3 separate regions of the Homo sapiens genome follow, and regions 1 and 2 are each linked to region 3. The links are contacts of gene promoters, found by promoter capture Hi-C in blood cells and fetal thymus (Javierre and others, 2016). All regions are on one chromosome and are shown on one strand. The core of a region is centred on a gene start or on the middle of the fragment in contact, and the rest is flanking DNA. Distances in the headings are between cores, read along the strand shown. Region 1 overlaps MYLK-AS1 (MYLK antisense RNA 1). Region 2 holds the start of HSPBAP1 (HSPB1 associated protein 1). Region 3 holds the start of TIMMDC1 (translocase of inner mitochondrial membrane domain containing 1).

The links. The method cuts DNA at HindIII sites, captures the fragments that hold promoters and counts their contacts. A CHiCAGO score of 5 or more calls a contact.
Region 1: a fragment that was not itself captured here is called in contact with the fragment with the promoter of TIMMDC1 in region 3 in 1 of 17 cell types (total CD4 T cells); the score reaches 5.8 in total CD4 T cells.
Region 2: a contact is called between the fragment with the promoter of HSPBAP1 here and the fragment with the promoter of TIMMDC1 in region 3, in 1 of 17 cell types (non-activated CD4 T cells). The highest score is 5.0, in non-activated CD4 T cells.

The regions. Positions count from the first base shown.
Region 1 is chr3:123,588,061-123,591,824 of GRCh38, forward strand. The region is part of intron 2 of MYLK-AS1 (MYLK antisense RNA 1); the gene reads left to right. Among named protein-coding and RNA genes, the nearest start is that of MYLK-AS1, 4.4 kb to the left of the region's middle. RefSeq lists a silencer at 2,768-2,968. The HindIII fragment of the contact is 1,187 bases long and covers 1,466-2,652 here.
Region 2 is chr3:122,791,904-122,795,253 of GRCh38, forward strand. HSPBAP1 (HSPB1 associated protein 1) reads right to left here and starts at 1,928. Exons shown (of 8, transcript NM_024610.6): 1 at 1,714-1,928. The coding sequence starts at 1,777. It overlaps SLC49A4 (solute carrier family 49 member 4), which reads left to right and starts at 3,166. Exons shown (of 9, transcript NM_032839.3): 1 at 3,166-3,350. The coding sequence starts at 3,290. RefSeq lists a silencer at 3,003-3,350. The HindIII fragment of the contact is 6,260 bases long and covers 1-3,350 here.
Region 3 is chr3:119,496,297-119,499,987 of GRCh38, forward strand. It overlaps TIMMDC1 (translocase of inner mitochondrial membrane domain containing 1), which reads left to right and starts at 2,251. Exons shown (of 7, transcript NM_016589.4): 1 at 2,251-2,631. The coding sequence starts at 2,438. RefSeq lists an enhancer at 1,991-2,040. The HindIII fragment of the contact is 2,873 bases long and covers 1-2,775 here.

The DNA.
Region 1 (3,764 bases), core at 809-3,308, 4.1 Mb after region 3:
ACCTGCCTCCCATTTGGTTCCTAAATAAGATAGCTACAAAGATAAAAGCTATATACTTCCCTCACATTTTACCCACAAGGAAATTCCTTTTAGGCCCAAAGATCTTTACTCTAAAACAGTTCTGTTGAATTTCAACCTGGCAATGTAAGTTGATATCTTCACAGGTATGGGACATAGGACAGAATTCAAAGTCTTCCCTCTCCTCACCTGAGACAAATGCATATCTGATTGCTTCCTCTGCCCTATTGTCTACGTTATCTTATGTAAAAATACAGATTAACTGAGCCAGACTAAGGCATGAATATTTCCTCCACTCCCCACTCACATGAAAATTGTGTATTCAAAAGGATGCAACTGTTTTATCTTTTTATCTACTGACACAATTTAAAAATATTTCTTGGCTGGGCGTGGTGGCTCACGCCTGTAATCCCAGCACTTTGGGAGGCCAGGCAGGCAGATCAGGAGGTCAGGAGTTTGAGACCAGCCTGGCCAGTATGGTGAAACCCCATCTTTACTAAAAATACAAAAATTAGCTGGGTGTGGTGGTGCGCGCCTGTAGTCCCAGCTACTTGGGAGACTGAGGCAAGAGAATCGCTTGGAGTTGGAGGTTGCAGTGAGCCGAGATTGCGCCGCTGCACTCCAGCCTGGTGACAGAGCGAGACTCTGTCTCAAAAAAAAAAAAAAATTTCTCTTCCCCCAGTATCCACCCTTTCCCCTTTAAGTACTGAAGCCCTCAAAATCATCTTTGGAGATAGGCATATACCTGCCTCCCTGGCATGCATCCTTTACTATGGCAAATAAACCTCCTAAAATGATTGAGACTTGCCTTGATCGTGTTCTTTGATTTACAGAGTCAAGGTGGGGGCTGGTTAGATCAGATCTCTCTCAGTCATAATTTTCTCACTGTTACAATTTTTGCAAAAGAAGTTTCAAGACCTCAAGAGATGAAGTGAGAGGCATAAGTTGACAATTGTCAGGGTCCCATCCTTTCCCGCCATGGCAGATTGTTCAGAGATTCTGTTGCCTTGTTTTCCTGAAATTTTTTTTTTTTGGAGACGAAGTCTTGCTCTTGTCCCCCAGACTGGAGTGCAATGGCACACTCTTGGCTCACTGCAACCTCCGCCTCCCAGGTTCAAGCAATTCTCCTGCCTCAGCCTTCCAAGTAGCTGGGATTACAGGTGCCTGCCCCCACGCCCAGCTAATTTTTGTATGTTTAGTAGAGACGGGATTTTGCCATGTTGGCCAGGCTGGTTTCGAACTCGTGACCTCAGGTGATCCACCTGCCTCGGCCTCCCAAAATGCTGGGATTATAGGCATGAACCACCACACCCGACCTTCCTGAATTTTTCAAAGAGCAAGTTGGTGAGCCCAAATTGCACACTGTGATCAGAGGGCAAAAAAATTTCTTTGCAAAAGAAATAAAGAAGTGAACCATTTTACAAAACCAAATAATCATTCATCTAAAAGCTTCTTTCATTCATTTGACTGATTTTTTTTTCAATATAATCTACTTAATGGGAAAGTAGGAGGAGGCAGGAATGCATAAAGTTCTGTTCAGTTGGAAATCAGTTTAAAACTCAATGTATCTTCTTGCAGTCACTTAGGCCCAACTCCAGTCTGTTGTTTATAGCAGCAATCTCCAACCTTTTTGGCACCAGGGACTGGTTTCATGGAAGACAATTTTTCCATGGACTGGGGAGGGAATGGTTTCAGGATGAAACTGTTTCACTTCAGATCAGCAGGCATTAGATGGAGCCTGCAACCTAGATCCCTCGCCTGCATGGTTCATGATAGGGCTCGTGTTCCTATGAGAATCTAATGCCGCTGTTGGTCTGGCAGGAGGTGGAGATCAGGTGGTAATGCTCACTTGCCTGCTGCTCACCTCCTGCTGTGTGGCTGGGTTCCTAACAGGCCATGGACCTGTACCAGTCTGTGGCCCAGAGGTTGGGGACCCCTGCTCTACAGTACAGCCAAAGTGATCTTTTCCACATACAACCTTGTTCGTGTCTACTACCTTCCTCTGCCCCACCCCTGAAGATATTTAAATGGCTTTTGATGACACTTAGGATAAAGCATAAAATATTTAATATGGTATACAAAAATCTGCATAGACTAGACCCTACCTGCCTCCTCAGTCTCACCATGCCCCTCCTAGTCATACTGGCCTCATCTTAGGTCTTCCATCGAGCAGTACTCCTTTTTTGCCTCAGGGAATTTGCACATGCTATTCCAATCATACCTTCCCAACAGTACCCCAAAGTCTTAACTCATTTCAGCATTAACTCAAAAGTCCAAGTTCAAAGTCTGATCTGAGACAAGGCAAGTCTCTTTCACCTACAAGCCTGTAAAATCAAAAACAAGTTAGTTACTTCCAAGATACAATGGGGGTACAGGCATTGGGTAAATGTTCTCATTCCACATGGGAGAAATTGGCCAAAACAAAGGGGCCACAGGCCCCATGCAAGTCTGAAACCTGGTTGGGCAGTCATTAAATATTAAACCTCTTAAATACTCTCCTTTGACTCCATGTCTCACATCCAGTGCATGCTGATTGAAGAGGTGAGCTCCTAAGGCTTTGGGCAGCTCTTGCCATGTGGCTCTGCAGGGTACAGTCCCAAAGGCTGCTTTCATGGGCTGGAGTTGAGTGCCTGAAGCTTTTCCAGGTCCAGGGTGCAAGCTGTTGGTGGATCTACCATTCTGGGGTCTGGAGGACAGTGGCCCTATTCTCAGATCCACTAGGTATTGCCCCAGTGGGGACTCTGTGTGGATGCTCCAACCCCACATTTCCCTTTTGCACTGCACTAGTAGGGGTTCTCCATGAGGGCTCCGCCCATGCAGCAGACTTCTGACTGGACATCCAGTCATTTCCATACATCCTCTGAAATCTAGGCATAGGTTTCTAAACCTCAACTCTTGGCTTCTGCACACTTGCAGGCCCAACACCACATAAAAGCTGCCAGGGCTTGGGGCTTGTACCCTCTGAAGCAATGGCCCAAGCTGTACCTTGGCCCCTTTTAGCCATGAGGTGGAGTGGCTGGGACACAGGGCACCATGTCTTGAGGCTGCACACAGCAGTAGAGCCCTGGGCCTGCCTAGCCCAGGAAACTATTTTTCCCTCCTAGGCCTCTAGGTCTGTGATGGGAGGGGCTGTCCTGAAGATCTCTGAAATTCCCTGGAGACATTTTTCCCCATTGTCTCAGCTATTAACATTCAGCTCCTTGTTACTTGTGCAAATTCCTGCAGCCTGCTTGAATATCTCCCTGGAAAATGGGTCTTTGTTTTCTACTGCATGGTCAGGCTGCAAATTTTCCAAACTTTTATGCTCTGCTTCCCTTTTAAACATAAGTTCCAATTTCAGATCATCTCCTTGTGAACGCATGTGACCGTTTGCTTTCAGAAAAAGCCATGTGACATCTTGAATGCTTTGGTGCTTCGAAGTTTATTCTACCAGATACCCTAAATCATCTGTCTCAAGTTTAAAGTTCCACAGATCTCTAAGGCAGGGGCAAAATGCTGTCAGTCTCTTTGCTAAAGCATAGCAAGAGTGACCTTTGCTCCAGTTCCCAATAAGTTCTTCGTCTCCATCTAAGACCATCTCAGCCTGGACTTCATTGTCCATATCACTATCAGCATTTTGGTCAAAATCATTCAACAATTCTCTAGGAAGTTCCCAACTTTCCCACATCTTCCCCATGTCTTCTTCTGAGCCCTCCAAACTGTTCTGACCTCTGCTGTTACCCAGTTCCACACTTGCTTCAACATAT
Region 2 (3,350 bases), core at 678-3,177, 3.3 Mb after region 3:
GGAGAAGGGATTAGAGGGGCACAGAATAGAAAACAGAGACACAAGTCAGTCAGGAAGATACAGTAGTAGTTGAGGTGAGAAAATGTGGATGATTTGAAGTACGGTCTGATAGTGAAAGGAAAAAAGTAGACAGATTAGATGCAGAATTGACCTGACTTGCAAAGTCATTACCTGAAATTAAGAAAGAGGCAGAGAGAGGTTATAGAGTTTGGGAATTTGTCATTGGAGAACGTTAGCAGGCTCACTAGAGAAACAGAGGATCAGAGGGATCTCAAGCCCATACTGACTGAATATTCAAGAGTTTGGCCATTTTCACTTTATACGGTCATCAGTTTGTGCAGGACTTTTTCCAGCAAAGTTCAGGCCCACGGGTGCAGGTACAAAGAGGGCAAAAGGTTGACTTCATCCAGAGTAAGAGTTTTGTCAGAAAAAAGTGCAGGAAGGGACAAGAGAATTTTTCAAAGGAACGACATACATTCTGGATAAGGGGGTGCAGTGGATAGAAAATGGAAAGATCAATGCAATGGAGGTATAGATGAAGGTCAAGAATTGTCTCCCTGGTAGAAAGTGGTCAGATAGTAGGAGGCTATAATTTGTTTCTTCTGCTTGGAATGGGCATCTCCCCCTTCAGCAAACTGTTTGACCCCTAAATACATCCATCCTTTTCTGCTCCCTGACTTCCTGAACCCCAGCACCACTCCCTGAGTTTGTCACCATCTCATCCAATCAGAAAGGCCCACCTCAGCGGATCACAAGGTCAAGAGAGCGAGACCATCCTGGCCAACATGGTGAAACCCCGTCTCTACTAAAAATACAAAAATTAGCTGGGCGTGGTGGCACGCTTGTAGTCCCAGCTGCTTGGGACGCTGAGGCAGAAGAATTGCTTGAACCTGGGAGGTGGAGGTTGCAGTGAGCCAAAATCGCGCCACTGCACTCCAGCCTGGTGACAGAGCGAGACTCCGTCTCAAAAAAAGAAAAAAAAAAAAAGAGAGAAAAGAAAAAGAAAGGCCGACCTCAAACTATTCGCTCCTTGAAGCATTTATGTTCTCCCCACTGAGATCCCTCCTCCTAACAACCCTCACAGAGTGTACTACTGGTAGAATAGTTCAGGTGACCACATAGTAAGTCATTCTTTTTCCTTTCTAGGCTCCTTTGGAAAAGGTATTGTTATAAATATTCAAAAGTCTCTGGATCCTGCGACAGTATTCAGAACACAGCCCTGCACGGTGCAATCATTCAATAAATAATAACAGGGATCTCAGGCTCATGGGCCTCCAAACCTCATCCCCACTTGCTAAACCAGGGTTCACTGAAATAGAATAAAAGCGCATAATCCCTGTTCACAAAAGTCTCAGATAACTTCCATTAATCTCAAAGGTTGCCTTCAATTTCACAAATTTAATTTTAATCCCCTCTAAACGTTCAAAACACCTCTATTTAGCTAATGATGGGCAAATATAAAACAAAACAAAACAAAAATAACACCCCATGCGTGAAACAGCACTCGTAGGCTACCCTACGACGATCAAAAATCTGGATGCCACAATTCGAGAAATGCCACGCTCACTAGAAAATATAGATTTTTCTTCATAGTCTAATGCAAGGCCAGAGAGACCTGGGTTGGGGCTAAGGCAAACGGCCCCACGAGGGGTGCCACGAGAGTCAACTGGCATTGGGTTTGTACTCAGGGTCGGACCTCAGCCTGGCACCTACCTTCCTCCCCTCCAGCCCCAGCCGCAACGATCACAGGAGTGGTCGCCTCGGAGCCTGCTGCCATGGCTACCGCAAGGCGGGTTCTGCCGGAACCCAAGGCGGAGCGGAGCTGGGGTGGGGTCAGAGTAGGGGCCAAACTCCGAGACCCGAAGCTGCACCACAGGAAGGAGCCCCGGCGACTCCCGCCCGGCTCCTACGGAAACGCCGGCTCTCACGTGGAGGTCACGTGACGGATGCTGGGCGGGACCACGCAGCTTTGTTTTGATACCCCGGGTGTGGAAATACAAACACGTGGTCTGAGTTGTGGCGCTTTTTACCTAACCCGGACCTTAGCGTTCTTTATTGTAGTCTTAGCTTCGTTTCTGTTTCTCCTTTTCTAGTCAGATCCTTCCTTTCCACCTCGGCTTTTCTCCACCCTAAAGGATTGGAGTTTTAGGGGAAGGTTTGCCGCTTAGTGGGGCTCCGGCGGTGGGATGGGTCTCTGCCGTGAGCTTTCGCGAGCCGCTCTTGGCAGCCTGGAATGCGAGGCTAGCTCACGCTTCTCTTACACCTCTCTTGCCCTTCTGGTGGTAACCTGACTCCTTCTGATTTTAGTGGCTGCCGGGAAATACGAACCTCGGGCAAAGAATCCTGTGATTGCGTTCCCTGTGACTCATTTCCCGATCCAGACAAGCCAAATTGCTTGACTTTAGGTTTTCAAGGACACTAATCCACAGCTGTCAGGCTTCTGAATTTGTATACCAAAATAAACAAACAGCTGTGTGAAGAGATCAACAACCACCTTTCTTCTCGTTTACCCTGTGGTCAAATCATAATCACTGGAGATGGATCTTTGGGGCAAAAATCTTCCAACTTTACTGGACATACCTTTATTGCTCGCCTATTGGCAGGCGAAATGGGTAAAGTTTACATATATATGAATGAAATTGGCTAGTTTGGAATCTCCTCTTTGGATATGTAAGACAAAAAAGTAACAAAAATAGGTAGTACTTATTGCACGTAAGAAATGATTTTTATGAGATAATCCCCTGGGACCAACTACGCTTAAACTTTATCCTTCGCCTATAATTTCTGAAGTTACTAACTCAACAAAAATGAGAATAAGCCCAAAATAGAAGCAAGCATCAGGTTAACTGACGTCACTTAACAGGTCACTGAGTTGTTTATTAGGCACAAGATTTAACTTGGACACTTCCTCCAAACACCCCAGGGTTCCTTGCCCAACCTCCTCGAATACAGCCTCTCTGGGAGTTTCCCTCTCCCCGACTCAGCCGCGCTGGTCCCTGCCTTTTCAGCGCTACCTGCCCTCCGTCTGGGACCTGGCTCCTTTCCTCTCGCCGGTGTTTCCTCGCCACCCGCGGAGGGGAGGGCGGACCCCAGCCTCCTTGCCGCCTGCCCCGCCTCCCCGCCTCCCCGCCGGCCCGGCTCGGGCCGCGCAGGCGCACCAGGCGCGGTCCGGAGGCCGAGGGCGACCACAGCAGCCTCCGCCTCCTGCTGCTCAGGACTATTCTGCGCTGGGCTAGTCGGCGGTGACCCGGACTGCGCCCGGCAGTGGCTTCGCGGGCGACGCGTCGCCATGGGCTCTCGCTGGAGCAGCGAAGAGGAGAGGCAGCCGCTGCTGGGGCCCGGGCTCGGGC
Region 3 (3,691 bases), core at 1,001-3,500:
TTAGCTCATCAGCTACAGTTAGTGTTATGTGTGGGCCAAGACAATTATTCTTCCAATGTGGCCCAGGGAAGCCAAAAGATTGGACACCTCTGGCTTAGACTGTATTGATCGGAGAACCTTCAAAAAGAGCAGACTACAGCCTACAGGGCTGGGCTTGGTGGCTCACACCTGTAATCCCAGCACTTTGGGAGGCTGAGGCAGGCAGATCACTTGGGGCCAGAAGTTTGAGACCATCCTGGCCAACATGGTGAAACACCATCTTTACTAAAAATACAAAAATTAGCCAGGCTTGTGGCACATGCCTGTAATCCCAGCTACTCAGGAGGCTGAGGCACAAGAATCACTTGAACTTAGGAGGCAGAGGTTGCAGTGAGCCGAGGTCTTGCCACTGCCCTCCAGCCTGGGTGACGAAGCTAAGACTGTATCAAAAATAAAATAAAATAAGCAGACTACAGAGGAGGGTGAGCATTTCCCTTGTTCTAAAAGAAGGTAAGCCGTAAGGGATTGGGGAAGTAGGAAATGTGGGAGGGCTCAGATGGAAGAGCAGCAACAGTGCGAGCAGTAGCCAAAGGAGAGGGGAGTTTTTTGAGTTATCAGGTGGCAAAAGGAACATTACAAATGAGTCTTCCGTTACCCAAATGAGAAACAAGTTATGGAATTTAAAATTTGCCTGTTAATATTACCTCATCTACAGGCTAGTGAATCCTGGGGCATTTGAGTTGTACATAAGTGATTGTGTCAGTATCTTCCCAACACCCACCCAAACCCTCCTACCCATTTCAAGTCCTCCTTCACCCCAGAATAATTCTGGGGTCATCTTATGCATTTAGCTTTTTCTACATATAGGTTAGAAACAGACTGTACAGCCATTTTCTTGGGCTTTCAGGCCTTGGTAACTTATCTTGGTGCCCACTTCTACCTAACATGGGATAAGCAGTAATCCAGAGCCAGAAGTCAGGAGATCTGAATTATTCAACAAATATTTACTGAGCACCTACTGCGGTTCTAGGTCCTGGAGATACAGAGATGAATATATTTGGTCTGTGATCTCAAGGATAGTTTATTGAGACAGATTAATAGGAAATTATGATGCAGTGTTGTAAGTGCTACGATGAGTGCTGAATCAAATCTCATATCCCAGAGTAGTCTTCATGGCGCTGTCACTAATTGAGCTGGTCACTCTAGTCAGTCACTTCTCAGGGACTTATGTGTAGCATTTCCAGCTATCAAATTCCTAAGTCCACTTACTGTATTCTACTACAGTGTGGCAGTTTTGATTGACAACTAGAAAGGAATCAAGGAGGTGAAGGGATTGGCAAAATGAATAAGGGAGTATGCTTGTTAACAAGGATTGAATGAAATTACACGAATATTGAGAATATTTTAAATGCATTCATTTTAATGAAAACTGTACTTCGAAGCATATGTTAGCAGAGGTTGTAGTGACGGCAAATTATACAAACACTTGATAGAAATTCCAGAAATTCTCCTGCCTTTTGAGAAGCAGTAGGCATATGAACTAAAGGGAGTGAAATCCACCTTAGGAAGACCTGCCAAAAAGCTGATTCTTCAAAAAAGTGTTCTCGAAATCTTAGTGTAACTGGCACCAACACCCATCCCCAATGCCTCGTTTTTTTTCCAGCAGAACTGACAAGGTACAAACGGACCCCGCCCAGCCTGGAAGGCTTCTCTAATGTTGGCAGAGTAGGTTGGACTTGTTTTTGCACAAATCGCCTTTCCCTCTTTCCCTACTCCACTTGCACTGAATATTGCACTTTCTTCCTTACTGAAGCGGGATTCCTGCCTTTTTTTTTTTTTTTTGAGACAGATTTTCGCTCTTGTTGCCCAGGCTGCAGTGCAGTGGTGTGATCTCGGCTCACTGCAACCTCCGCCTCCCGGGTTCAAGCGATTCTCCTACCTCAGCCTCCCGAGTAGCTAGGATTACAGGCGCCCGCCACCATGCCCGGCTAATTCCTGGCATTTTAAATACGATAAATTACTTCAACCTATGACCACCTCAAGCTGAATATAAGTAGCCGCAGACACCGTTTGCATGACCCAGGAACCACAAACACGGAGCGAAGGCCTGCCGGGACCACGCTGAGCTTCACTACTGGCAGCCAACTCACTTCCGGGGGTGCACTCAGCACAGCAGTGGCCCAACCCGCCCTCAACCGGAAGTCTTTTGGGCTCCGGCTTCGCCGTCGCCCCGCCCCCTGGCCTTTGCCCCGGTCGGGCGGGACTTCCTGTGTCGTATTTCCAAGGACTCCAAAGCGAGGCCGGGGACTGAAGGTGTGGGTGTCGAGCCCTCTGGCAGAGGGTTAACCTGGGTCAAATGCACGGATTCTCACCTCGTACAGTTACGCTCTCCCGCGGCACGTCCGCGAGGACTTGAAGTCCTGAGCGCTCAAGTTTGTCCGTAGGTCGAGAGAAGGCCATGGAGGTGCCGCCACCGGCACCGCGGAGCTTTCTCTGTAGAGCATTGTGCCTATTTCCCCGAGTCTTTGCTGCCGAAGCTGTGACTGCCGATTCGGAAGTCCTTGAGGAGCGTCAGAAGCGGCTTCCCTACGTCCCAGAGCCCTATTACCCGGAATCTGGATGGGACCGCCTCCGGGAGCTGTTTGGCAAAGAGTAAAAGTGCCTAGGGTGTGAAGTGGGGTAGGGGGCCGCGAAAGCGGTGTCCTGCAGCGTGGGCAGCCTGGGTCAGCCTTAGGACACCAAGGATGGTGTGCTTCATTTTTAGATTATATTTGAGGTTCTGATATTTGTAACCCAAGCTTGTATCTTTTTTCTTTCTTTTTTTTTTTTTTTTTTCCAGACAGGGTCTTGCTCTGTCGCCCAGGCTGGAGTGCTGTGGTGCTATCTCGGCTCACTGCAACCTCTGCCTCTGGGACTCAAGTGATCCTCCCACCTCAGCCTCCCGATTAATTGGGACTACAGGCGCGCACCACCACGCCCGGCTAATTTTTTTTTAATGTATTTTTTATAGACAGGGTTCTTACCATGTTGCCTAGGCTGGTCTTGAACTCTTGGACTTAGGCGATCCGCCTACCTCGGCCTCCCAAAGTGCTGGGATTACAGGCGTGAGCCACCGCGCCAGCCCAAACTCGTATTTTTCTTTCTTTTTTTTTTTTTTTTCGAGACTGAGTCGCGCTCTATCGCCCAGGCTGGAGTGCAGTGGTGCGATCTTGGCTCACTGCACTCTTCACTTCCCAGGTTCAAGCGGTTCTCCTGCCTCAGCCTCCAGAGTAGCTGGGATTACAGTTGCCCACTACCATGCCCAGCTAATTTTTGTATTTTTAGTAGAGACAGGATTTCACCATTCGCCAGGCTGGTCTGGAACTCCTGACCTCACGTGATCTGCCTGTTTCCGCCTCCCAAAGTGCTGGGATTACAGGCCTGAGCCACCGCGGCTGGACTGCGCCCGGCCTAGAAGGGCAATTATTTTATAGTAACTTAATACTTAAGACAGCTATTTGTTAGAGCAGTCTCAGGATGACATCTTGGAAGCTTCATTAGCAGTTCTAGCTTCTTATGCATTTGAGAGTAACAAATCGAATTAAATAGTAGTTTTTCCTTGTTATTTTAGATTGGCATGTGCCACCCACTGCATAGTGAACTTTCCCAGTGCGTTTTTAAAAAAACATTTATTTGTTTATTTTTAGAGCCAGGATCTTTGCTATGTTGCTAT